Linked DNA regions of Homo sapiens: regions 1, 2, 3, 4, 6 and 7 are each linked to region 5. Evidence: promoter capture Hi-C in 16 types of primary human blood cells and fetal thymus (Javierre and others, 2016). All regions are on one chromosome and are shown on one strand. Each heading gives the region's core, a stretch centred on a gene start or on the middle of the fragment in contact. The rest is flanking DNA. Distances are from core to core; before and after follow the strand shown.

Region 1 (3,335 bases), core at 81-2,580, 780 kb after region 5:
TACATGAATGCACATGTGTGGGCACACATGTATACATCCTTCCTTTGGCTCTAAGCATTTAAGACATTAAGTATGGCTGTCATCTTGTATCTGAGATCCCAGACCTGTCTGCCTTGGGTAGATGTGAAATCCATGTGCCTGCTGGAGGCTAACAGGAGGGAGGCAGAAAGGGGGAAGAGGAAGAGGTCTGGTAATTTCTAAATTATTGAATTGCTCTGCACAGCAGAGGGTGTGTGATATGTTTGAACTGTGTAAACTTCATCAAGCCTTAATTATTAGTGCTAACTGGGGACAGAGAGAATATACATCATTGAAATTTCTGCACCAATTATTTCCATTTCTGCTTCACCCAGCTTTCCCCAGAGCTGCAAGTAATTAGCAAACTTGATTGATTCGAGTATCACCTCTTGTTCACCACCTCTTTCCCCTATGGTCTTTATGGTTCACTAATGTACTTAAAATAATTAGCCTGAATAATTATCCCATTCATTCAGATCATGAATGTGTTACCAAGGAAGTTGTACTAACATTTCCTTTCTGTAATTTTAAAAAAGCAAAGGCTAAAGAATTATTGTGCAACCAGCTTACAGGTGTTACTAAGCTCTACCACCTGAATATGAGCACGGTGTGGGATAGGACAGAAATCTAAGGCACACCCCTGTCTTAAGACTGTTTATTTTGGGTCCCCCTCCCCCCACTCCCAGGGAATCTGATTTAATGGAAGGAAGGGTGTTTGCTTGGTATGAGCTTTTTCAAAGCTTCAAAGTTGATTTTAATGTGCAAGTAGGGTCGAAAAACACAGTCTAGTTTGAAAGAGGAGTGACAGCGTGCGCACACACATGCACACACACGCACACACGTGTGCGCACACACATGCATGCACATGCTCACACATGCATGCACCCACGCGTGCGCGCACACACACTCAATGACAGAAGGTGAGCTGACCTGTTTTTTCCTGGCACTGACTTCGTTTCCTAGGAGATCGCAGGGCTTTGTGGAAGATGTGATTTGTCCTGAGACGAAACATTGGGTGGGATGGGCCCAAGGGAAGGGATGGGCACTCAACACTAATCAAGATGGGCAGCTTGCGAGGTGTGGTTAGTGTTAGTTGTGGTATGCTAAGTGTACACTCAATGTGGACTACCTGGTATTTTAAGTTGCTATTTATCGAGTGCCTATGGTGTGCCAGGCATAGCAATATACACTCTATATATGGTTTCTCGCACAGTCCCCTCAATAGCACAGTGATGTGTGTATTGTGTTACAGATGAGGAAACTAGAGGGCAAGTATTTCCCCAAGACTCCAGAGCTAGTAGATGGAGCTGAGAAGCAAATCCAGATCTAGGTAGATCTAAAGACACCGGCTCTAGAATCATTATAAGACAGAGGGTGGGGCGTTCCAAAGAGGCAAAGATCAATCGTGTTCATCAGGGCAATCAGACACAGGCTCGAGGAGGGGGACACTTGAGCAGGCCTGGGAAGGGTTTCTCTGACATGGGACTGTCAGGGAACACTGGGAAACAGGTTGCACAGGACAGGCTCTGGGGGTGTGGAAAGTAAGCAGAATTTAATTCATGAGATGGGGGCACAGAGAGCCACTGAGGTTTCCTGAGGGGTTTGGTCAACATGATATATGGGTGGAAGATTGGGAGGGGTCTGGTAAACATGAGATATGAGTGGAATATTGATCTAGAAGCCCCAGTGTGTAGAAAAAATGGGGCCACAGCAGGGAGGAGTCCAGGAATCGTGTGGGAGCAATCCAGGAGGGGGTGAGGCAGGAGGAGCGAGATGGGGTTAGAGGGGAGGGATGCGGATATCTTAAAAAGAGCTGCAGCATGGATGCTGAACAGATATGGGGGATCAACAGTAAGGATGAAGGAAAGATAATACCAAAGCTTGGCTCCTTGACCATCGGGGCAATGGCATCTCCTACAGTGGAGGAGGCTGGAAAGGAAATGCTTTGTTTGGAGGTGCTCTCACCTAGTAGGGAGCGGGAAGGGCAGAGGAGCAAGAGCAGTGGGGAGAAGATAGGCCAGTGTGGTGAAAACCAGAAAGGATAAGCTCTGGGCAGAGGGGTCATGGGGCACAAGGCCAAATAACAGTCCTTTAGATTTGGTGGGGAGGGAATGGGAACCTTTGAGGAAGCCTTCCAGCCTAAGGGTTTACTTAGAGCTAGAGGGCCCCTGGGGCTGTTTGAATATAAAGAAGTGGCTAGTGGAGGGGCAGTGAGTGGAGATGCTGGAGAGAGAGGAACTGCTGAGAGCAAAGTCCTCCGGGGTTGGAAAACGAATAGAGTCAGGGGTGCAGGGGCTGGGTCAGGGCTGGAGATGAGGAAGAGTGGAGACGTGATGGAGCAGGTGTGTGGGGCATGAGGAAAGGTGAGCCTGGGCCAGACAAGCCACTGCACCTCAGGACAGTGGGAGGAGCCACAGGCACCTGGTTTAGTGGAACTTGCGTGGGGGTGAAAGGCCAGGGGAAATCTGAACTCTGCTCTGGGCCATCTGCCAGGGGAGCCCCGAGCTGGTGGGCTGCAGGGGGACCAGAGCCAGTTCACAGGTACAGCACCTGTGTGCTGAGGCCCAGCCCCTGGGACCACCCAGCCCTCCCCTTCCCCCTACTAAGTAGTCACCTATTTGGCCATGGGAGCATCCACTACCTGACCTCAGGGATGTCCAGACAGGGCTGCCAAGATGCTCCTCATGACAATCCCTCTCTTTTCAGTGTTTATACCATAGTGTTCTCATTGGCTTGGCCCATCTGCCTTTCCCCCCTTCTCTGGGCTCCCCAAGGGCAAAGGACCCTGTCTTACTGATCTTTCTATCTCAATTGGCCAGCACAGGCTGACACTCAGAAGGTGGTCAACAAACAATGGTGGAGTGAATGAAAGAATGGACTAACTGTAGGAAGGTCATTAGACACACCACACCTCAGGAGAGTGAGGTCATGGCTGAGGGGAGGTTGATCGCAGAGATGTTCAGATGCACTCGGGCTAACCCCAGACCCTTTGGAATGATTGATGATGTTATAAGATCTTCTTGTATCTCTGAACTTCGCTGACCCCTTACCTCCTTCCAAATCCTCCGTCTCCATGCGCCCTGGCCAGTCTTTTTAATGCATCTCGCTTTCTGTAAACCACCTAGTGACTTCAAAAGCTCAAGTGATTCCCCAGACAGAACCGAAGGACCCATCTCCTTCTGTTTACTCCCCATCCTGCTTAAGGTTTATTATTTAATGTCCTTAGGTTTCCTGTGAGCATGCTTTTGAGACAACACTCCTACCGTGGTCTGAAAGTTCTGCATGCTAAAGGGTAACGTGAGAACACCAGTATGCAA
Region 2 (3,009 bases), core at 415-2,914, 760 kb after region 5:
ACTTTCCTGGGCTCTCAGTGCAACTTATAAGTCCTTCCCCTCCCTGTGGCTCTGTGACCTCTACTCTGAGAGGTGGCTGATGAAGGCAGATTCCCTGAGGATTTGCCAAAGCCACTGAGAATCGCTGATGAGTAAGTTAGGGAACGGTGAAGACCTCAGCAGCAGGGCAGCGGAATTCCTGCAGTTCCCTTTCGCTCCCGCAGCATTAACCCACGGCTTCCTAGTGCCAGGTGCTTAATTAGGGATTGGTGGTAAAAAAGATGACTAAGATTTCATCCTGCCTTCAAGGAGGTCTGTTCTCACAGCAGAGAAAGGTGAGTGCCTAAAGAAAAAAAATAGAAATTATAAACCACTACAGACTTTTGTTCCTTGGTATCCTAACTGTGTTCTTTCAGATCTGGTGTGCTTTTCTGACCAAAGATTTATATTACTTTCATCAAAGTTAACTAATTTTATATATAGGAATTTTGTTGACACAAGTATTTCATGTTATTAGATAATTAGTAGGGTTGCTATTTTTGGTGAGCGATTGAGCTATAAACAATTTGAACAAAAAATGTCAAGATGTCAGAAAAAAAATGGACAGTTAAGTTATTCTATTTTTTGTTGTTGTTGTTTGTTTCTTCTTTCTTTCTTTTATTTTTTTGAGACAGGGTCTTACTCTGTTGCCCAGGCTGCAGTGCAGTGGCATGATCACGTCTCACTGCAGCCTCAACCTTCCAGGCTCAAGCGATCCTCCCACTTCAGCCTCCTGAGTAGCTGAGACTACAGGCGTGTGCCACCAAGCCCAGCTAATTTTTTCTTCTTAAGTGTTTGTAGAGACAGGGTTTCACCATGTTGCCCAGGCTGGTCTCAAACTCCTGAGCTTAAGGGATCCACCTGCCTTGGCCTTCCAAAGTGCTGGGATTACAGACATGAATCACCATGCCCAGCTGTTATTCTTTATTCTATATGAATGTTTTTGGGGACAACAATATGATACCATCCCCACATCCTGCAGACAATGATGGGAGCCTCCCCCAGTGCTGTTGTGCTAGTCCATTTGTGTTGCTCTAAAGGAATACCTGAGGCTGGGTAGTTTCTAAGGAAAAGAAGTTTGTTTTGGCTCACGGCTCTGTAGGCTGTCTGAGAAGCATGGTGGCAGCATATCTGCTCCTGGTGAGGCCTCAGGAAGCTTGCAATCATGGCGGAAGGCAACAGGAAGCCAGAACATCACATGGTGGGAGGGAGCAAGAGAGAGGTGGGGTAGGTACCACACACTTTTAAACAACCAAATCTCTCATGAACTCAGAGCGAGAGCTCATTCACCAAGGGGATGGCACTAAGCCCTTCTTGAGGGACCCATCCCCATGACCCAAACACCTCCCACCAGGCCCACCTCCAACACTGGGATTATGTTTCAAAACGAGATCTGAAGGGGACAAACATCCAAGTGATGTCAGCTGTTTTGTTTTGCTTGTAATTTTTGTTTTTGTTTTGCAATGAGGGCCCTGTAGAACTCAGACCTCCAACTCCCACCATCCTTCATACTTCCCAGACAACTATTTTTTCCTAGATCCTTCTCATTGCTTCTAGGAAAATTTAAACAGTCTTCCTTCTAGATTTTGAAAAGAACTGACTGACTATACGTAACTGTCAGCCTGGAGTTTTATTATTCAGCAAATTTCCACTCAAGGAAATACCAAGACAGGTTCAGAGAAAGTATGAAGTTCACCTATTTTCAAAGGCCTGGAAGAAAAATTAGGCTCAAGGATTCCCCACAAGACACTGAAACCCCGTGCAAAAGTACACAGATGTACATGCAAATAGAAATTTTAAAGTGCATGGGAGCACCCCCCTACAGGTCTAAAAGAAAATGAGGGGGCGAAGTGCAGTGCTGGTGAGCTGGAGTTGACTCCCCCCTACTTCAAAAGCCTGCAGTTTCCAAATCGAAAAACCTGGATAAGGTTTTGTAAAAGTTTGGAAAATACTTTCAATACAAAGGAAAATTTGGGAAGCCCAGGATATTTTGAAAATCTATTTTTACCCTCCCTTCCAATCCACAAACTCCTACTCTCTAGGTTTTGGCAGCTCAGAAAAGTTACGTTGTGTTTTTAGCAAGGGAAATCCTGATTCCTGAAAATTCCTGGAGTATTTCTATTCTGAACAAGCTTTTTTTTTTTTTGAAAATATTTAATTGACAAATAAAAATTGTATATATTCAAGGTATACAACATGAAGATTTGATATATTATGTCTCGATCACCATAATCAAATTAATTAGCACATCCATCACCACCCATGCTTACATTGGGGGCTGGTGAGGACACAAAATCTGTTCTTTTATCAAATTTCAAGTAAACAATACAGTATTATTAACAATCTTTTTTTTTAATTGTTGGAACATCCTTTGTCTTAACTCAGCATGCTTTAAAGCATCTAAGGAGGCTGGGTGCCGTGGCTCATGCATGTAATCCCAGCACTTTGGGAGGCTGAGGCTGGCGGATCACCTGAGGTCAGGAGTCAAGACTAGCCTGACCAACATGGAGAAACCCCATCTCTACTAAAAATACAAAATTAGCCGGGCGTGGTGGCACATGCCTATAATTTCAGCTACTGGGGAGGCTGAGGCAGGAGAATCGCTTGAACCCAGGAGGCAGAAGTTGCAGTGAGCCGAGATCGCACTATTGCACTCCAGCCTGGGCAACAAAGGCAAAACTCCGTCTTGAAAGAAAAAAAAAAGCATCTAAAGAAAATATGGACCCATCATTGAAGTCGAGTGCTTGCCCTGTTGTTTCAGGGAGCCAGAGGGCCATTTTTAAGCAGGCCATGAGACACTGGGAGAAGCACACCTGTGTGACCTTCATAGAAAGGACGGATGAGGAAAGCTTTATTGTATTCAGTTACAGAACCTGTGGGTAAGTAAACGAAAGCGAGGCCACCTCTGCAGAATCAGTCGGATGGCTCATGAGTGTTGAATTTTCTCTGTAAACCTAAGTATTTCCAATGAGCTGTTATTTAGAGGAGTCC
Region 3 (3,451 bases), core at 51-2,550, 700 kb after region 5:
GCCATCCAAATGGCTGTGAAGTGGTACTTCATTGTGGTTTTGATTTGCATTTCCCTAATGACTGATGCTTTTGAGCATCTTTTCATGTGTTGGCCATTTATATCTTTTCCTTACAGATGTGTTTTTTCAAATCCTTTGCTTAGTTTTAATTGGGTTGCCTTTTTGTTGTTGAATTGTAAGAGTTCATTTTATATTCTGGATTCTAGGCTCTTATAAGATATATGACTTGCACAAATTTTCTCCCATTCTGTAATTTGTCTTTTCACTTTCTTGATAATGTCCTCCTTTTCTGATAATGTCACAATGCACAAAAATTTATAAATTTGATTAAATCTAATTTATTTATTTTTTCTTTTGTTGCTCATGCTTTTGATGTTATATCTACGCCATTGCCAAATCAAGATAATGAAGATTTATGCTGATGTTTCCTCCTAATAGTTTTTTGGTTTTAGCTCCTACATTTAGGTCATTGATTCACTTGGAGTTAAATTTTGTATATGGCTTGAAGTAGGAATTCAACTTTATTCTTTTGCACATTTGTTTCTTTTAAAAGCCTCTGGTGGCTTGTGGCTAAATAAAAAAGGGAGATGGAGATCTGGGAAACTCCGACCTAGAAATATAAAAATGAATGCTGTGAGGAGCATGAGTCTCAATTCATAGATTTCACAATATGGACAGCGTGGATGGATGACATGGGTTTCAAAGTTTCGAAAGCTATATTTGACCTCTGTGGGGAAATCGCCTACTATGTGCCAAGAACAGGGAGAAGCATGAGGCAGTTTATAGATTTTGTAATATGGACAGCTTGGATGGATTACTTGGGTTTCAAATTTCAAATTATATTTGATCTCTGCAGGGAAAGCATCTATGTGTCGAGTACAGGGCTTGGTTCTTCATTGCTCCATAAATTTTATTTTTCTTCCTTCAATAGATTGCATCTACTGAAGAAAGATTATATCTATTGAAGAAAAAAAAGAAAGCCATGGTGTGTGTGTGTGTGTGTGTGTGTGTGTGTGTGTGTGTGTACTTATGTGTACATGATCTCATTTAATTTTCTCAACAGGTTTCCAGAATAGGCAATATTATCTCTATAGATGAATCATTTGTGGCTCAGTGAGGTTGAGTAATATGTGCGAGGTTGCCAAAGCCAGAATATGAATACAGATCATTTTGCAAAGGCTGTATGTGTCAATCATTATAATCTAGATTATGATACAGGAATAAATAATCCTTAAGTATCCATGCTTTATAACCACAGAAGTTTTTGTCTCATGTTACATGTTCAGCCTGGATCATATCATCTTCACTCTATGTCTCAGCCTGATAGAGCGGGCTGTTTCCGGAATATCCTTTGTCTTATGGCTTTGGGAAAAGAGAACATGGCAAACCATGTGCTGGGTCTTACAGGTTCTGCTTGGAAGTGACACATGTCACTTCCCCTCACTTTCATTAGCCAGAAAAAAATCATGGTGGGCCAGGCGAAGTGGCTCATGCCTATAATCCCAGCACTTTGGGAGGCCGAGGCAGGAGGATGACTTGAGGTCAGGAGTTACAGACCAGCCTGGCCAACATGGTGAAACCCCATCTCTACTAAAAATACAAAAATATTAGCCAGCATGGTGGCGCATGCCTGTAATCCCAGCTACATGGGAGGTAGAGGAACGAGAATCGCTTGAATCTGGGAGGCAGAGATTACAGTGAGCTGAGATCGTGCCACTGCACTCCAGCCTGGGCAACAGAGAGAGACTCCATCTCAAAGAATAAATAAATAAAATAAATCACATGGTGAAGCCTGACATCTGAGAGAGGGGGAAGTATAATTTGTACCCAGGAGAAGCAGCAAAAATGATGAACAATAATAGACTCTGTCACAGGCCTCCTCCCCTCTTGTAACAAATACTTGCTTTCCTTCTCCTCCCGTATATACAACATACTTACCTTTCCCCAAAGTCCTGTCCAGTCATGGTACCAGGCTCCAAGTCCAAGATCTTGTGATCATCTCTATACTAAGTCAGGATGTGACTCCTCTTCATCCAAAGACTAGTGAACTTTAAAACAATCATATACTTCCCCACCCCACCACCAAAATACATACTCAATATACCATGATAGATAAGGGACAGGATAACCATAACAAACACTTCCATTTGGAAAGAGGAAGACTGGGAGGCACAACAGTCACTGATCCATAACAGTTCTGAAATCAGGCTGGACACATGTTGCAAGAGGCGCCTAGGATGGGGAACGTTCCTTCATGAGGCCCTGATGCCACCTCCTGCCAGTAGCTCTCCATTCATTTTCCCTGTGTGGCTTTGAGCTCCACACTCTGGGAGGTCCTGCCCTTCCTTTTCCCTTATTCTTAGCCACATCTGGAGAGGGCATCAGAGAATATGCCCTTCATGGGGGCAGCTTTTTCAGCCTGTTTCTTTCCCATACAAGGATGGAGGCCCAAGGGTCATTTTGTGTCATTTTAAGTGTCAAACATTAGCAGCCTCTTATAGGCCATGCTAATGACTTTTTTTGGTCCTACGCTTTTCTACAACATTAATCATCTTCTTATCTGTTTGGTTCAGCTGTGTGTGCCATAGCCACATACAGTTATTTTCTAAACATGTCTATCTCTCTCCAGACTTAATTATTGCTACCTTGCACTTATGAAGCTTCTGCGAGAGAAACACATTCTTAGTTTTCTTTATCTGAACAATTCTTTCTCAACTGAAAGGATTTACCAGGTACCATCTTGGTTGGTTCTTGCTACAAGGTTGAATTTTTTTTCTTTAACAGACATCTTGAGTATAATTTACATGCTGTGTAATTCACTTATTGTAAGTGTACATGCGATTTTAGTAAATTTATAATTGTGTAACCATAACTACAATCCAGTTCTAGAGCATTTCCAGCAACCCCCAAATTTCTGCATGTTCATTTACAGTCGATCCTTGTTTCTGCCCCCAGTCCTAAACAATTACAAATATTTCTACTTCTATAAATTAGCCTTTTGTAGACATTTCATATCAATTGAATCATATAATATGTAGTGTTTGGCAACAGTTATTTCATTTCGTATGATGTTTTTGAGATTCATACACGTTGGAGCCTGTGTCTATAGTTTGTTCCTTTTAATTGCTACATAGTTCTGTTGTATAGATATGCCACGTTGTGTTCATCCATTCAACAGCTGATGGACATGTAAGTTGTTTCAAGATTAGGGCTATTAGAAAGAAGGCTGCCATAAACCTTTGAGCATGTCTTTGTATGAACATGTGTTTTCATTTCTTTTGGAAAGATCCCTAGGAGTTGAATTGCTGGGTCTCACGATAAATTTAAGTTTTCAGGTTTTTTCGTTTTTTTTTTTTTTGAGACGTAGTCTCGCTCTGTCGCCCAGGCTGGAGTGCAGTGGCGCGATCTCGGCTCACTGCAAGCTCCGCCGCCCGGGTTCACGCCATTCTCC
Region 4 (3,332 bases), core at 65-2,564, 820 kb after region 5:
CTGAGGCAGTTCAGCCTCCTCTTGCACAGCAGAAAACGCTGCATGGTTTGTGGAACCCTGTCAAACTCCCTGAGGAGTTCTAGCTCCCTACAGGGAAGTTTAAAAGCCCTCTTGTCCCTGCAGATAGAGACCAGCAGGAACACAGGTGCTTCAGGGTCCCGGCAGGAAGTGGGGGCACATTCAGAGTCATTATTTGAGAGAAGTTAATAAAGGGACAAGTTACAAAGGGGTGGGAGAGTATGGGACACTGTAGGACAATGAAGCCACCAGAGCTAGGAACTGCAACTCCAGGCCCAGAGGATGAGAGGAGGGAGCAGTTCCTGGAAGCTGGAGACAGAGAGGACTGCATGCAGAGACCCTCTGGCTGCAGCTGTGACCTAAGTGGAAGAAAAGCTGTGGCAATCAGGGGACTAAATACCCTGGCTTCTCTCGCCTCCCTCCCTCTGATCTGCTGGTGCTCCCCATGGCTGAACCTGCAGCAGAAGGCACGGGGTCATCGATGTAGGCCAGGGGTCTGTCTCACGGGGCCCAGGCAGGTGGGGAGGGTGGGGGCGTCCGGCCGGATGGAGGGGAGGCGTCCCACCCTGCTCTGTGCTCATTTCATGACCACCCAGCTCTCAGGAATTTGAAATTTCCCAAAGACAGGTTAGACCTGTAAGACATTCTAAGCCAGAGCCAACACAGGACTCAGAATGGTCAGTCAGACAGGACCGGGGCCAGGCAGGGCGTGGAGCTCCAGCGGGGCCTAGGAGTGTTAGGAGCCAGGTGGCCCAGAATCTACAACAGCGTTTGCCTGGGCCCCTCGGGGGGCATGGAGCACACTGGGGAGGGGCTGTGCAAGAATTTGCTTCCAGAATTTCTGGTGCTTGCTAATCTAGACCAGTCTTATCTATCTATTTTATTTATTTATTTACTTTTTTTTTTTTTTTGATACGGAGTTTTGCTCTGTGGCCCAGGCTGGAGTGCCGTGGCACAATCTCAGTTCACTGCAACCTCCGCCTCCCAGGTTCAAGAGATGCTCCTGCCTCAGCCTCCCGAGTAGCTAGGATTACAGGCGCCCACCACCACACCTAGCTAATTTTGTATTTTCAGTAGAGACAGGGTTTCACCATGTTGGCCAGGCTGGTCGCAAACTCCTGACCTCAAGTGATCCACCCGTCTCGGCCTCCCAAAATGTTGGGATTACAGGCATGAGCCACTGCGCCCGGCCAATATCCATTTTATTTTATGTGGGCTTAAGTGTCCAAGACACAAGGTACTATATATGGGACCAGGGCCAACCAGAGTTACTGTCCTTGTATAATGAAAAAACCCAGAAACAAAGGCTACAGAATACCAGCCCAGAGCCTGAGGTGCAGCTCACCTGTGACACCCACAGGGACCTCAAAGTTGGCCTATAGTCAATGCCCTCAAATGCAAAAACCAGTCATTTAGGGTCTGAGGTTTCCAGGGTTGAGAGCTTACCCGCGATTCCGATGTGCTTTTATCGCCCTCTGTCGGCAGAAATGACAAATTGCAGTCAGTCGGTGGGGCGAGTGGGAGCCCTTCTCAGATGCATCCAACACTTCCAGGGAATAAAGTGGCAAATAGATCCACCCATATCCCAGCGACCAGTGAGGCGAACCGTCCATTGGCTCCATGTCTCCATAACCGGAAAAAACAAAAAGCAGCCAACTCTTTTCAATGGCATGCTCACGTATTCTCAAGCTGGGAACAGGGGACCTTGGCTTGTGAGGGCCACTTTGCACCCCCGAGGGAGCCCTGACCTGGGAGCCAGGGGCCTCTGTGTACTCCTCCATCAAATGGGGTGACGAGACTACCTGGCCTCTCCTGCCAGGCACGCACCAGGCTCTGTAGAGAAAGCCGAGCAGACGCAGGCGGGAGGCACGAGGGTGTCTTGTGCTGAGGGGACATCTCACTTCTCTCTGCTCCAGAGTGCGGGGGCAGGCTGAAGGCTGAAGTGCAGACCAAAGAGCTCTATTCCCACGCCCAGTTTGGGGACAACAACTACCCGAGCGAGGCCCGCTGTGACTGGGTGATCGTGGCAGAGGACGGCTACGGCGTGGAGCTGACATTCCGGACCTTTGAGGTTGAGGAGGAGGCCGACTGCGGCTACGACTACATGGAAGCCTACGACGGCTACGACAGCTCAGCGCCCAGGCTCGGCCGCTTCTGTGGCTCTGGGGTAAGTCCCGGAGACGCTGGGGCCGGGGCAGAGTGTGATGATTCACAGCAGGAGTTGTGGAGTCAGACACGCCCGGCTTTCAGTCCCGGCCACCTACTCCACTTAGGAGCAACGGCGAGGAGGCACGTTCTGCAGAAGCGGAGTGGGAAGCAGGAGAACCGTCAGGAGAGGAGGTTGGGAGGCAGCCAGGGACCAGTCCTTGAAGGCCCCTTACTGAGGCCAGCCATGGAAGAGCACTTTTCCTTTTGGGACTTTCACCTATTTTTGCAAAGGCTTTCCCTCTCCCCTCCTTTTTTTTTTTTTTCTTTTTTTTCCCCCGAGACGGAGTCTTGCTCTGTCGCCCAGGCTGGATCTCGGCTCACTGCAACCTCTGCCTCCTGAGTTCATGCGATTCTCCTGCCTCAGCCTCCCAAGTAGCTGGGATTACAGACATGCGCCACCACACCCACCTAATTTTTGTATTTTCAGTAGAGACGGGGTTTCACCATGTTGGTCAGGCTGGTCTTGAACTCCTGACCTCAAGTGATCCACCTGCCTCGTCCTTCCAAAGTGCTGGGACTACAGGCGTGAGCCACCATGCGCAGCCACTCTCCTCCATTTTTATTTGGCCTTCAGGCTTTAAAAATATTTAATTATGCTTTTATATATTTCTTATATTCACATTTCTCTCCTCAAGCAAAACCAAATGCTCTGAAAATTACAAGTCACTTACTATACACACAATAGTTGTGCTCAAGGTCATTATCAATGTTCTCATTATTGATTTCTTTAGTGGGCCTATTGTGTTTGCTGTTTCTCCAGCACCTGACACTGGGCTTGGCATATAGTTGGTGCTTGGTGGGAGTTTGCGCATTGGCCAGTACAGTGTCCCAGTCACTCCCCTGGCTGCACCGCACTGGACACTGCCCATACTGGGCACCAGCCCCCTCCTTTCTGTTGCCTGGAGGCCCGGTCGCTCAAGCTTCTTTGCTATTGGCTGGACTTATAGCACATCATTTTTGAGTCACCAGTGGTCCTTGTGCTAAACGGAAACTCAAATTGGCATTTATATTTCTTTGAATAATTCCCTTCATCTTCTTTCACCCTCTAAAAAAGGAAGAATGACAAAGTGGCACTTAACCAATGCACTGCCTTTGATAAAATCTTT
Region 5 (3,185 bases), core at 523-3,022:
TACTAAGAGGGGATAAACAAAGCAGCGGGCATGGAGGAATGTCACTCTGAGGCTGCGGGGAGAGCATGGATAGAGGGGCTGGGGCCCCATGGAGCAGGAGCTGGTGAGCTGCAGGGCAGGGGCAGCCCTCTCAGACTCCGGCCTGGTTTGTGGGAAGCTTCCCTAATATCCCACCACACAGGCACCCCTGAGAAAGCCCTGCCCCCTGAGAAACTGAACTTATGCTCAAGAACCCACTTACCGGATGGAGGTCATGGACAGGGATGTGTGAAAACTTTAAAAGAACTGTCAAAAGCCCATAAAATCAGCCACCTAAATTGTAACATACTGTGCTATGACAGTAGAGAGACTGCAAAATTCTCATCAACATGGAAAAGAAAAGCAAAGAAAACGCCTGAGCCTTGGGTACCTGGTGGGTGATAAGGCTTCAACCTTGTGGAGTCTATCAACCTCCCCTATCCCCACCCTGCCCGACACTCTCCCCACCAAATGCGTCCATGCTGTGTCTGGACCCAGGCCGCTCCTGAGACGGGAGGTGCTTCTCGGGCTACCCAGCTGTGTCCTCTTGCCAAGCAGCCTCACGTCAAGGCCCCGACTGCTGGACACTGCCCCAGCGAGCCACAGCTGTCCTTGGCGTTGAGGAGATCTTTCGTCTTTTCTGGGGTTGAGGAGAATTCTCTCCCCACCTGGATGTCCCGTTCACACCCACGTCCACACATGCCTTACGGTGACGAAGGTCCCTACCCAGCCGGGTGTGAGGCCTGGGTCTGACGGGGCTGGCCTGTGGGGTTCTCTCCCAAGCAGGCCGCCCAGCGCTATGCCAGCCCTCTCTGTCTCCTTTGATGTCAAGATGGAATATTCATTTTCATCTGTTTCCACCTGTCAGAAATGGAGGAACGCTGGTGTGAGTGGAGGAAGACGTTTGCCAGATTTCCAAGTCCCCTTAATGTCTGTCCCTCTCTTCTACAACGGGGGAAGAAGCCCGTGTAACTGTATGGTACAAATACGCCCTGCTGAGCAAGTGTTCCAATCAGAGCCATTCTCATCCTGGGCATGCGGCTAGCTTGTTCCCCTCTGAGAAGTGGGTGCATTGAGGTAGGAAGGAGACTGTACTCCGCCTAGCGCTTTCGTGGACCCTCCCCCCCGACAAAGCTCCATCCTCAAAGTCCAGGCTAAGTAAGGTTGGTGGCTTGAGGATGCTACCTGGGGCACAGGCACAGGGTTTCCCTTAACCAAGAATTGACACAGCGAGTCGGGTGGGGCCGAGAGGCCGCTGCTGCCGTCGGGGGATGGGGGGAAACGGGTCTGACTCCCCGGGAAGGCGTCCAAGCGGCAAAATAAGATCTCCCTCCCACCCTGGACTAGCAGCTGGGGCCGCGGGTGCCGGGGTGCGTGCGTCTAAATGTGCGCATCCTCGCCGTGTGTGTGTGTGTGTGTGTGTGTGTGTGTGTGTGTGTGTGTGTACAGCCAGGACTTGGCGGGTCGAGTCACACCCCCTTCCCTCTTCTCCCATCCCCCGCAGCCCCGTGCCCGCTGACGGCGCCTCGGAGGTTCCACCTTTGAAACTGTAGGCGGCTTGCAGCCGCTGAGTGGTCGTCGGGAGAGGGGGGCTGCGGCGGGGGAGGGCGGGGAGGAGCCTGGCCCTGGATGTGTGCTTTTCGATTGATGGATGACTGCCGGGTGGGAGCGAGCGCGCGGGTGTGTGTGTGATCGTGTGTGTGTGTGTGGTGTGTGCGCAGGGTGCGTGCGCGCGCGGGGCCTGCCCATTTTCCTCCTCGCAGCAGTCAGTTGGGAGCTGGAGGGAGGGAGAGGGAGACGCAGGCGGCGAAACGGCAGAGGAGCCGAGCCCCCTCCGCCCAAGGCGCCCTCCCTCCGTCCGCGCACAGGCGCCGTCGCTTGGAGGAGCAAGGTGCCTCCCAGCCCGCAGGGGCGCCGCGCGCAAGCCCGCGGGCTCTTCGGTGGCTCTGCCCCGGGACTGCACCTGGAGGCGGCCCCGGACGGGGATGGTCAGCGGCTGCTGCCGTCTGGCTCGCGAGCGGGACGCTGTGAGGGCACCATGGCGCTGACTCCCGGGTGGGGGTCCTCGGCGGGGCCGGTCCGGCCGGAGCTCTGGCTGCTGCTGTGGGCAGCCGCGTGGCGCCTGGGTGCCTCGGCGTGCCCCGCCCTCTGCACCTGCACCGGAACCACGGTGGACTGCCACGGCACGGGGCTGCAGGCCATTCCCAAGAATATACCTCGGAACACCGAGCGCCTGTGAGTATGGTCCCCGCCCCTGGCTCCCTGGCTCCGAGGTTGCCCTCCCACCCAGACGCAATTCCGGACTTGGGGGTGGGGGCAGGACCATTGGGGCCCGTCCGGGCTCCGCAGCCCACAGACGGGTCAGTGCCTGCCGGGGTCTTTCCCGAGCCAGGAGCCAGGAGCGCCGTGGTTTCCCCATCCCTGGGATTCAAAGGGCCCTCGGCGGGGTTGTCAGCTTCCGTCCTCACACCTGCACCCTGCACCCTGCACTCCGCACCCTCAGGCCCTCCTCACTGCGCCAGCGCTTTATTCCTCCAGGGTGCCTGCGAACTGGTGTCAGAAAGCCTTCCTTGCACCCAGGAGGGACACTTCCCACACTCGCCAAGCACAATGTCTCCTTTTGGGCACATGGGGCTACGGCCGCGTTCTGAGCCAGCTGCGCAGATTCCCGCTCCCAGAGCTTGCTCCTGACGAAGGGCAGCAGGGTGGGATGGAGGCGAAGTTTCTGGTCTGCCCCTTCTTCTCCATTGTTTGCCCCAGAGCCTTGAGAATTCTTCCCCTGCAGGTGCCACGCGTTGGTCCCCTACTCACCCGCCTCCCTCCACACCCAGCCATCCCCAACACAGGCAGACAATGGGACCTGAGGGCTTTGGGTATGGGGCTTGGGGTATGTAACATTCAGCACCCGAAAAGGGGCAGGTGTGTCTTGGATGGAGAACCCGGTGGATAATGCCAAGAAGTCAGGAGCTTGGAGAGGGGGGCCCAAGGTTAAAGATATTGACCATGACAAGTAATAAAAAAATAGCATTTCTCTTCCCCTGTTCTGTCTCACTTGTGAATTCTTGAGGAAACTTGATCCTTTTCTTTTCTAGACCCAGTAAGCTAGTAGAATGTGTGTGTGTGTGTTTGGGTGTGTTTGAGTGTGTGTATTTACAGACCTTTATACT
Region 6 (3,037 bases), core at 360-2,859, 730 kb after region 5:
GTTTAGTGAACTTGGACTTCCCAGCCTCCAGAACTATAAGAAATCAATTTCTGTCATTTATCAGCCACTGATATTTACTCACAACAACTTTAGAGAACATAACTACTTCAAGTAATGAGAATTGACAGTGTCTTATTTCTGCAGGACAAAAGTACCTCACTGAATATTCTGCACTGTCTGGAGGTTTTCATCCTCCATCTCTGCTCCTGTTAGAACACTAGGGGAAGGAACAATGAGGCAAAGGGCTGGGCAGGGAGGCAGACCCTCTCAGCTGTGCTAAACACCACAGTGACCACAGGCCAAGGACTTTACCTCATTGAGCCTCAGTCTCCTCATCTGTAAAATGGGGATAACAATAATAATAACTTACAGATAATAATACCTCACAATAATAATGGCCCACACAGATGCAGTGAGAATTAACTGAGATAATATATGCAAGTACTGGCCAATCCAATTCAGTCCACTTCACCTGGACATATTTTGTAAGCGTCTGCTGTGAACACCGTGTGGGTGGAGATGCAGAGGATGTTGCTCCAGTTCTTAAGGAGTAGAGCGTCTTATAGGGGTGATAGATGGGGTCACACAGAATTATACTATGGGACTGATATGGTGAGTGTCAGGAGCTCCTTGGGGGTGGTGACTGTATCTGATTCGCTTTTGTCTCTCTGGCACCTGGGATGGTGCCTGGCACAGAGAGGTGCCCTATGGAAGCTTGTCAAATGAGGGAATTAATGCATGAGCACAAGGCCTTGGAAGAGATGTAAAAGAAGCACAGAGGACAGAGATGGCTTCATGGAAGAGATTGAGGTGGGCCTTGAAGGATTTTCATCAGGGTTGCAGTGCAGGGGAGTCATTGCAGGTGGAAGGCAGAGGCTAAACAAAGGCATGGAGGTGAGAATTTGGCAGTGAGAACTGAGCAGCACAGGAAGTGTAGAGTCCAGGGTGGTTGGCAGGAGGGTGAGTCCTGGGAGTTGGGGAGAGAAGTTGGAAAGGCGTGCTGGGATCAGATTCAGGCAGAGCTTGGGCTGAGGCCTTGTGCCTCCCCTCTGTAGGCTGCCCTCATCCGCACCTCCATGTGTGGAAGATCTTTGCCACTCCCCTCCTGCCTTTCCATCCAGATCAGTCAACCCTTCTCTGGGCAGCCTCCGGATGCCCACATTGCTTCCTCTTTCTCCCACACTGGACCATGGACTCTGCCTGAGGTATGTGAATTCTTATGTATTGGTGCATTCCCAGTGCCTAGTCCTGTGATGGGCACATTTTAGATGCATAATAAACTTGCTGAATAAACTGCTCACACAATGAAAAGTCCACTTCCACCAGACTCTTCATGATTGAGCCATACCATTAAATTTTTTATTTTGCTAATTTAATAGCTGGAAAGTGGTATCTTGTTTTTGCTTTTATCTTCATTTCTCAAGGCTAAACGTCTTCTATATGATTATCTACTCTCTTAGTTGGTTTGGGCTGCGGTAACAGAATGTCATAGACTAGGTGGCTGATAAATGACAGAAATTGATTTCTCACAGTTCTGGAGGCTGGGAAGTCCAAGATCAAGGTGCTGGCAGGTTCAGTTTCTGGGTAGCGCCTGCTTCCTGGTTCATAGATGGTATCTTCTTGTGGTGTTTTCACATGGCAGAAGGGATGAGAGAGTTCTCTGGGGTCTCTTTTATAAGGGCATTGTATTAGTCTGTTCTCACATTGCTATAAGGAACTACCTGAGACTGGGCGATTTATGAAGAAAAGAGGTTTAATTGACTCATAGTTCCACAGGCTGTACAGGAAGTGTGGCTGGGGAGTCCTCAGGAAACTTACAAGGAAGGCGAAGAGAAAACAGGCACATCTTCACATGGTGGCAGGAGAGAGCGAAAGAAGGGGGAAATGCTACACACTTTTAAACAATCAGATCTTGTGAGAACTCACTCACTATCATGAGAACAGCAAGGGGGAAGTCTGCCCCCATGATCCAATCACACCCCACCAGGCCCCTCCTCCAACACCGGACATTACAATTTGACATGAGATTTGGGAAGGGACACAAAGCCAAACCATATCAGGCATGAGCCCATTCATGAGGACTGATCCCTCATGACCTCTCAAAGGTCCCACCTCCAGATACCATCACATTGGAGGGTTACAATTTCAACATATGAATTTTGAGGGGGCACAAAAACATTCAGTCTATATATAGCATCTACTAAATTAGAATTTCTTCTGTGAAGTGTTTGCCAATTTCCCCTCTCCATACGTCTATTGGATACAAAGTTTTTCTCATTGATTTGCATGGGCAAATTATATAATATGGATAGTAATCATTTATTATCTTCAATGCAGGTATTTTCCCTTATATGAGTGGTTTGTTTTCATTTTGGGGAATTACTCAACACATACAAAGGTTTTGAAATTTTATACAAACTTTTAAGGCTTTTGAAGTTAAATATGTCAAACCAAATTTTCTTAAACTTCTAAACTTAAAAAAAATTATTCTTACTGAAGCTTTGGGAAATAATTTATTTTTTGGTAGAGTTTTTCCATATGGTTTATTTGTACTTGAAATTTCTTTCTTATACTTTCTTTCAATCCATTTGGGTTTTATTTTGGGGTAGGACTGATACCCCCCAGTTCTAAATAATAATCTCAGTACCATCTATTTCATATTTTCCCTGTGTCTGTGATGTCTCCTCTATCAGAGAGTGTGTTTTTATATATAGAGTTAGCATTTATATCCAGCAATCCATGTGTCTTTTCATTTTAGCTGCTATATATATATATATATATATATATATTTTTTTTTTTTTTTTTTTTTTTTTTTTTTTTTTTTTGAAACAGGATCTTGCTCTGTCACTCAGGCTGGAGTGCAGTGGCACAATTTTGGTTGACTGCAACCTCCGCCTCACAGATTCACGTGATTCTTCTTTGCCTCAGCCTCCCGAGTAGCTGGGATTACAGGGGTGCCGGCTGATTTTTGTATTTTCAGTGGAGACGGGGTTTCACCATGTTGGCCAGACTGGTCTCAAACTCCTGATCTCAAGTG
Region 7 (2,987 bases), core at 421-2,920, 800 kb after region 5:
GGAGGGCATTTCAATTTGCAAACATCTTTTCAGATGCCTGTCAAAGTGTGGACTAAGGCCCACCCAAAGTAACTTAGTGCACAGACCCAGCTTGACTTTTTTATGGTTAAAACAACTGCAGAGAACAACATTTAGAAAAGAAGAAATATACAACATTGACCTTGACCATGAATCTTAAAGTAGGAATCAGGATTAACAGAAACCTCATCTAGACCTATTAAATCAGGGAAAGGACATCTACTGAATGCTGGCCACGTGCCAGGATCTAGGTTATCTCACTTTTCTTCATTACAATCCCCTGGTAGGAATTATTATTGCCCCCGTTTTCCAGTTGAGGAAGCTGAATTCCTAACATGGCTGGGCTGGAACTAGAACCTGGATCTGTAGGATTCCACAATCCGCTCTGTTTCCACTAAGGAGACCTGAAAGCCACAGGGAAGGAACGTGAAGGGGGTGGAATTTTTCCTTAGTGTTTGTGATTTGATTCTGACACTGGTCACCTTTCTACCTTCCCGATACCACAGAGGTATAGGCAAAAGGGCTCTGGACGTGGCAAGTGGAGTTTGAGGTGCTGGTCCCATGTTCCCTACTAGCTATTCGCTCTCTTGCAGATCAGCTTTCCTTCCTACGACCGGCCCATACCTGCTTTGCTCCTCACTGTGGTCCCAGTGCTTGGCACACAGTAGGCTCAGTAAATACCTAGTGAGCAATGAAAGAATGGATAGATCAATGAATGAATGGGGCTCAGTTTCCCTGCTGGTGGAGTGGGCATCCTGCTGCCTGCTCTGCCTCCCTTGCAAGACTCTCTGGAAGAAGAGTGGGTGAGCGACCACAGCCTCGTGCAACACTGTCCAACAGAAATGGGATGTGAGGCACAACCAGAAGCCACATAGGTGACCTTGAATTTGCTGGCAGCTGCCTTACAAAAAAGGAGAAACCAGTGACATTGATTTCAATGATATTTTTATTTATTGTACAAAATAATATCATTTTAATATGTAATCAATATACACAATATTAGTGAGAGATCTTATGTTTTTCACACTAAGTCTTGGAAATCCAGCATGTGTTTTATACTCATGGCACATCGCCACTTGGACCAACTGCGTTTCAGGTGCTCAGTAGCCACATGTGGCTGGGGGCTGCCGTATCAGACAGCGCAGGTCAGGAGACTGTACCCAGCCAGCTTCCCCAGCCCAGCCTTTTCCCAACAAGGCCATCATTCAGATGCTCTGTGAACACAACGTACCTAGCACGTGTGTCAGAACTTCTCCAGTGAAAGAAGCTGGAAGAGGAGCTCAAAGGCCCAGCAGAAGAGCTGGAGCAAGCCAAAGAAGCTCTTGCCTTGGTGCCAATTGGCAGGTGCTCTGCCCAGGGCCCAGCTGGCGCCTGATCCTGGCCAGGGTGCCAGTTGGCCTCTGTACCTGATTCTGGTGCCAGATGGCAGCCTTCTCAGAGCATACTGGCTGGCAGCAAGCAGAGAACCTTAACAATTCTGGTTACTTTGGGAGAAGGCAGCAGCACTCAAGGGCTGGCAGGGCCATTTTGGTCCTATGCCCCCCACATAAAGAATTAAAGATTTCCCACCTTGATCCCTCCATCCCCCTATCCCAGTGCTGATAGGTCACCATGAAGGGCTTGGTAGGGGGACTGGCTTCCCTCAAGGGATTTCTTCAAAAGCCTAAGAATATGCCCTGCCTTCCCTTTCCTTAACTTTCTCTGAACAATTTTTGGGATCCTGCCTGAGCCGTCTCATCATCTAACTACTTCCTTCTTTCGCTAATTCCACCTGGACCATGAGAAGACTCCAGAGCTCCTGCTATGCTAAGCTGAATGCTGCTTCCAGTCTCTTCTACTGCCACGCTCTCCCAGATTTTTCTGGGAGGCTTGGCCTTGGCCTTGGCCTCTGCAGCCCAGAGCAAGCACGAGCCAGTGGGCTTGGAGCAGGTGCTGCTTTACCACAGTGGGAGGCCCCATGCACCTCTGTGCCATCTAGCCAAGCTGAAGCAGGGCTGTAACTGGCCAAACATCTCACGGCTCTTGCTAGAGAGAGCTCAGGTGTAAAAGCATGCCTTTCATCTACCTCCCAAGGCCGAGCACCTTACCTTCTAGTCTCTGGAGGAATTATATTTTCTTTGCTTTTGCCCTAGGTCCATCCACCGGGCTCTCTCCCTTCACCTGGCTAAGATGGTGCCAAGAGACTTGCTCCTCTGTGCACCTCTTTCTTGCCTGTGTGTCCTGCCTACAGCCACAGCATCTTCTGGTATCAGAGTCTCCTGCAGACCCCAGCCTTGGTCCTTTGTCTATCTGTCTCTCCCAATGGGCTCTTTCCTTGGTTTCCTTCTGCCTCTTCCCTAGGTCCCCCAGCCAGTGTCTTGAGTTCTTCTGCTGTGCTGCCCTCCTGCCCGTCCATCTTCCTCCACTGGCCCATCCTTGAAGCATTTTCCTTCTTTCTGTTCTTGCCTTGTCTCCCTTCCCTCCTCAGGCCTGCACTGCTCCACTCCCACCTGGTCCAGGTATGCCCAGGGAACCTTATCTTTTCACTGCCCCATCATTGTGCCTCTCTACTCACTGGAAATTTGAAAGCAACTCTGCTGCTGTCTATCATGATGGCTTCTGTGTGCCGATGGTCTGTATGCCGGGTACTTCACATGCATCGTTTTCAGTCGTCACAACCCTAAAAGTAAATATTATCATTCTCACTTTAAAGCAGGAGGGAGGCTCAGTGAGGCTAAATCACAAGCAGTCACCCAATTTATTGGAGGAAGATCGGCTGGAGGATCCACCCCAGGTCTGACTCACTTTAAAGCCTGGACTCTTTCCGCTACTTTTTATCAACTATTTTCTTCTTTCTATGCTTTTTAGCAAATGTCTAAGAAAATACTTTCAATTTGGTAAGGTGATAAAAAAAGTAACTGCACACTTGTTACTATTTTAGCATACTTATTACTTACATTTATTTGAGGCGATGGGCAACTTCAGCTCCC

What was found. The method cuts DNA at HindIII sites, captures the fragments that hold promoters and counts their contacts. A CHiCAGO score of 5 or more calls a contact.
Region 1: a contact is called between a fragment that was not itself captured here and the fragment with the promoter of SLIT1 in region 5, in 1 of 17 cell types (erythroblasts). The highest score is 5.0, in erythroblasts.
Region 2: a contact is called between a fragment that was not itself captured here and the fragment with the promoter of SLIT1 in region 5, in 2 of 17 cell types (naive B cells and total B cells). The highest score is 7.0, in naive B cells.
Region 3: a contact is called between a fragment that was not itself captured here and the fragment with the promoter of SLIT1 in region 5, in 2 of 17 cell types (naive B cells and total B cells). The highest score is 6.3, in naive B cells.
Region 4: a fragment that was not itself captured here is called in contact with the fragment with the promoter of SLIT1 in region 5 in 1 of 17 cell types (total B cells); the score reaches 7.0 in total B cells.
Region 6: a fragment that was not itself captured here is called in contact with the fragment with the promoter of SLIT1 in region 5 in 2 of 17 cell types (naive B cells and total B cells); the score reaches 6.1 in naive B cells.
Region 7: a fragment that was not itself captured here is called in contact with the fragment with the promoter of SLIT1 in region 5 in 2 of 17 cell types (naive B cells and total B cells); the score reaches 11.0 in naive B cells.

What each region holds. Positions count from the first base shown.
Region 1 is chr10:96,405,399-96,408,733 of GRCh38, reverse strand. All of the region lies in intron 9 of TLL2 (tolloid like 2), which reads left to right. Among named protein-coding and RNA genes, the nearest start is that of OPALIN, 48 kb to the right of the region's middle. The HindIII fragment of the contact is 1,140 bases long and covers 761-1,900 here.
Region 2 is chr10:96,428,519-96,431,527 of GRCh38, reverse strand. TLL2 (tolloid like 2) reads left to right here. Exons shown (of 21, transcript NM_012465.4): 5 at 2,780-2,897. Among named protein-coding and RNA genes, the nearest start is that of OPALIN, 71 kb to the right of the region's middle. The HindIII fragment of the contact is 976 bases long and covers 1,177-2,152 here.
Region 3 is chr10:96,482,165-96,485,615 of GRCh38, reverse strand. All of the region lies in intron 1 of TLL2 (tolloid like 2), which reads left to right. Among named protein-coding and RNA genes, the nearest start is that of TLL2, 30 kb to the left of the region's middle. The HindIII fragment of the contact is 2,724 bases long and covers 1-2,662 here.
Region 4 is chr10:96,368,918-96,372,249 of GRCh38, reverse strand. It overlaps TLL2 (tolloid like 2), which reads left to right. Exons shown (of 21, transcript NM_012465.4): 20 at 1,935-2,185. Among named protein-coding and RNA genes, the nearest start is that of OPALIN, 12 kb to the right of the region's middle. The HindIII fragment of the contact is 3,669 bases long and covers 1-3,148 here.
Region 5 is chr10:97,184,546-97,187,730 of GRCh38, reverse strand. It overlaps SLIT1 (slit guidance ligand 1), which reads left to right and starts at 1,772. Exons shown (of 37, transcript NM_003061.3): 1 at 1,772-2,253. The coding sequence starts at 2,057. The region is part of intron 11 of ARHGAP19-SLIT1 (ARHGAP19-SLIT1 readthrough (NMD candidate)); the gene reads left to right. RefSeq lists enhancers at 927-1,427, 1,428-1,928. The HindIII fragment of the contact is 4,998 bases long and covers 160-3,185 here.
Region 6 is chr10:96,459,458-96,462,494 of GRCh38, reverse strand. The region is part of intron 2 of TLL2 (tolloid like 2); the gene reads left to right. Among named protein-coding and RNA genes, the nearest start is that of TLL2, 53 kb to the left of the region's middle. The HindIII fragment of the contact is 1,785 bases long and covers 717-2,501 here.
Region 7 is chr10:96,388,953-96,391,939 of GRCh38, reverse strand. All of the region lies in intron 13 of TLL2 (tolloid like 2), which reads left to right. Among named protein-coding and RNA genes, the nearest start is that of OPALIN, 31 kb to the right of the region's middle. The HindIII fragment of the contact is 7,459 bases long and covers 1-2,987 here.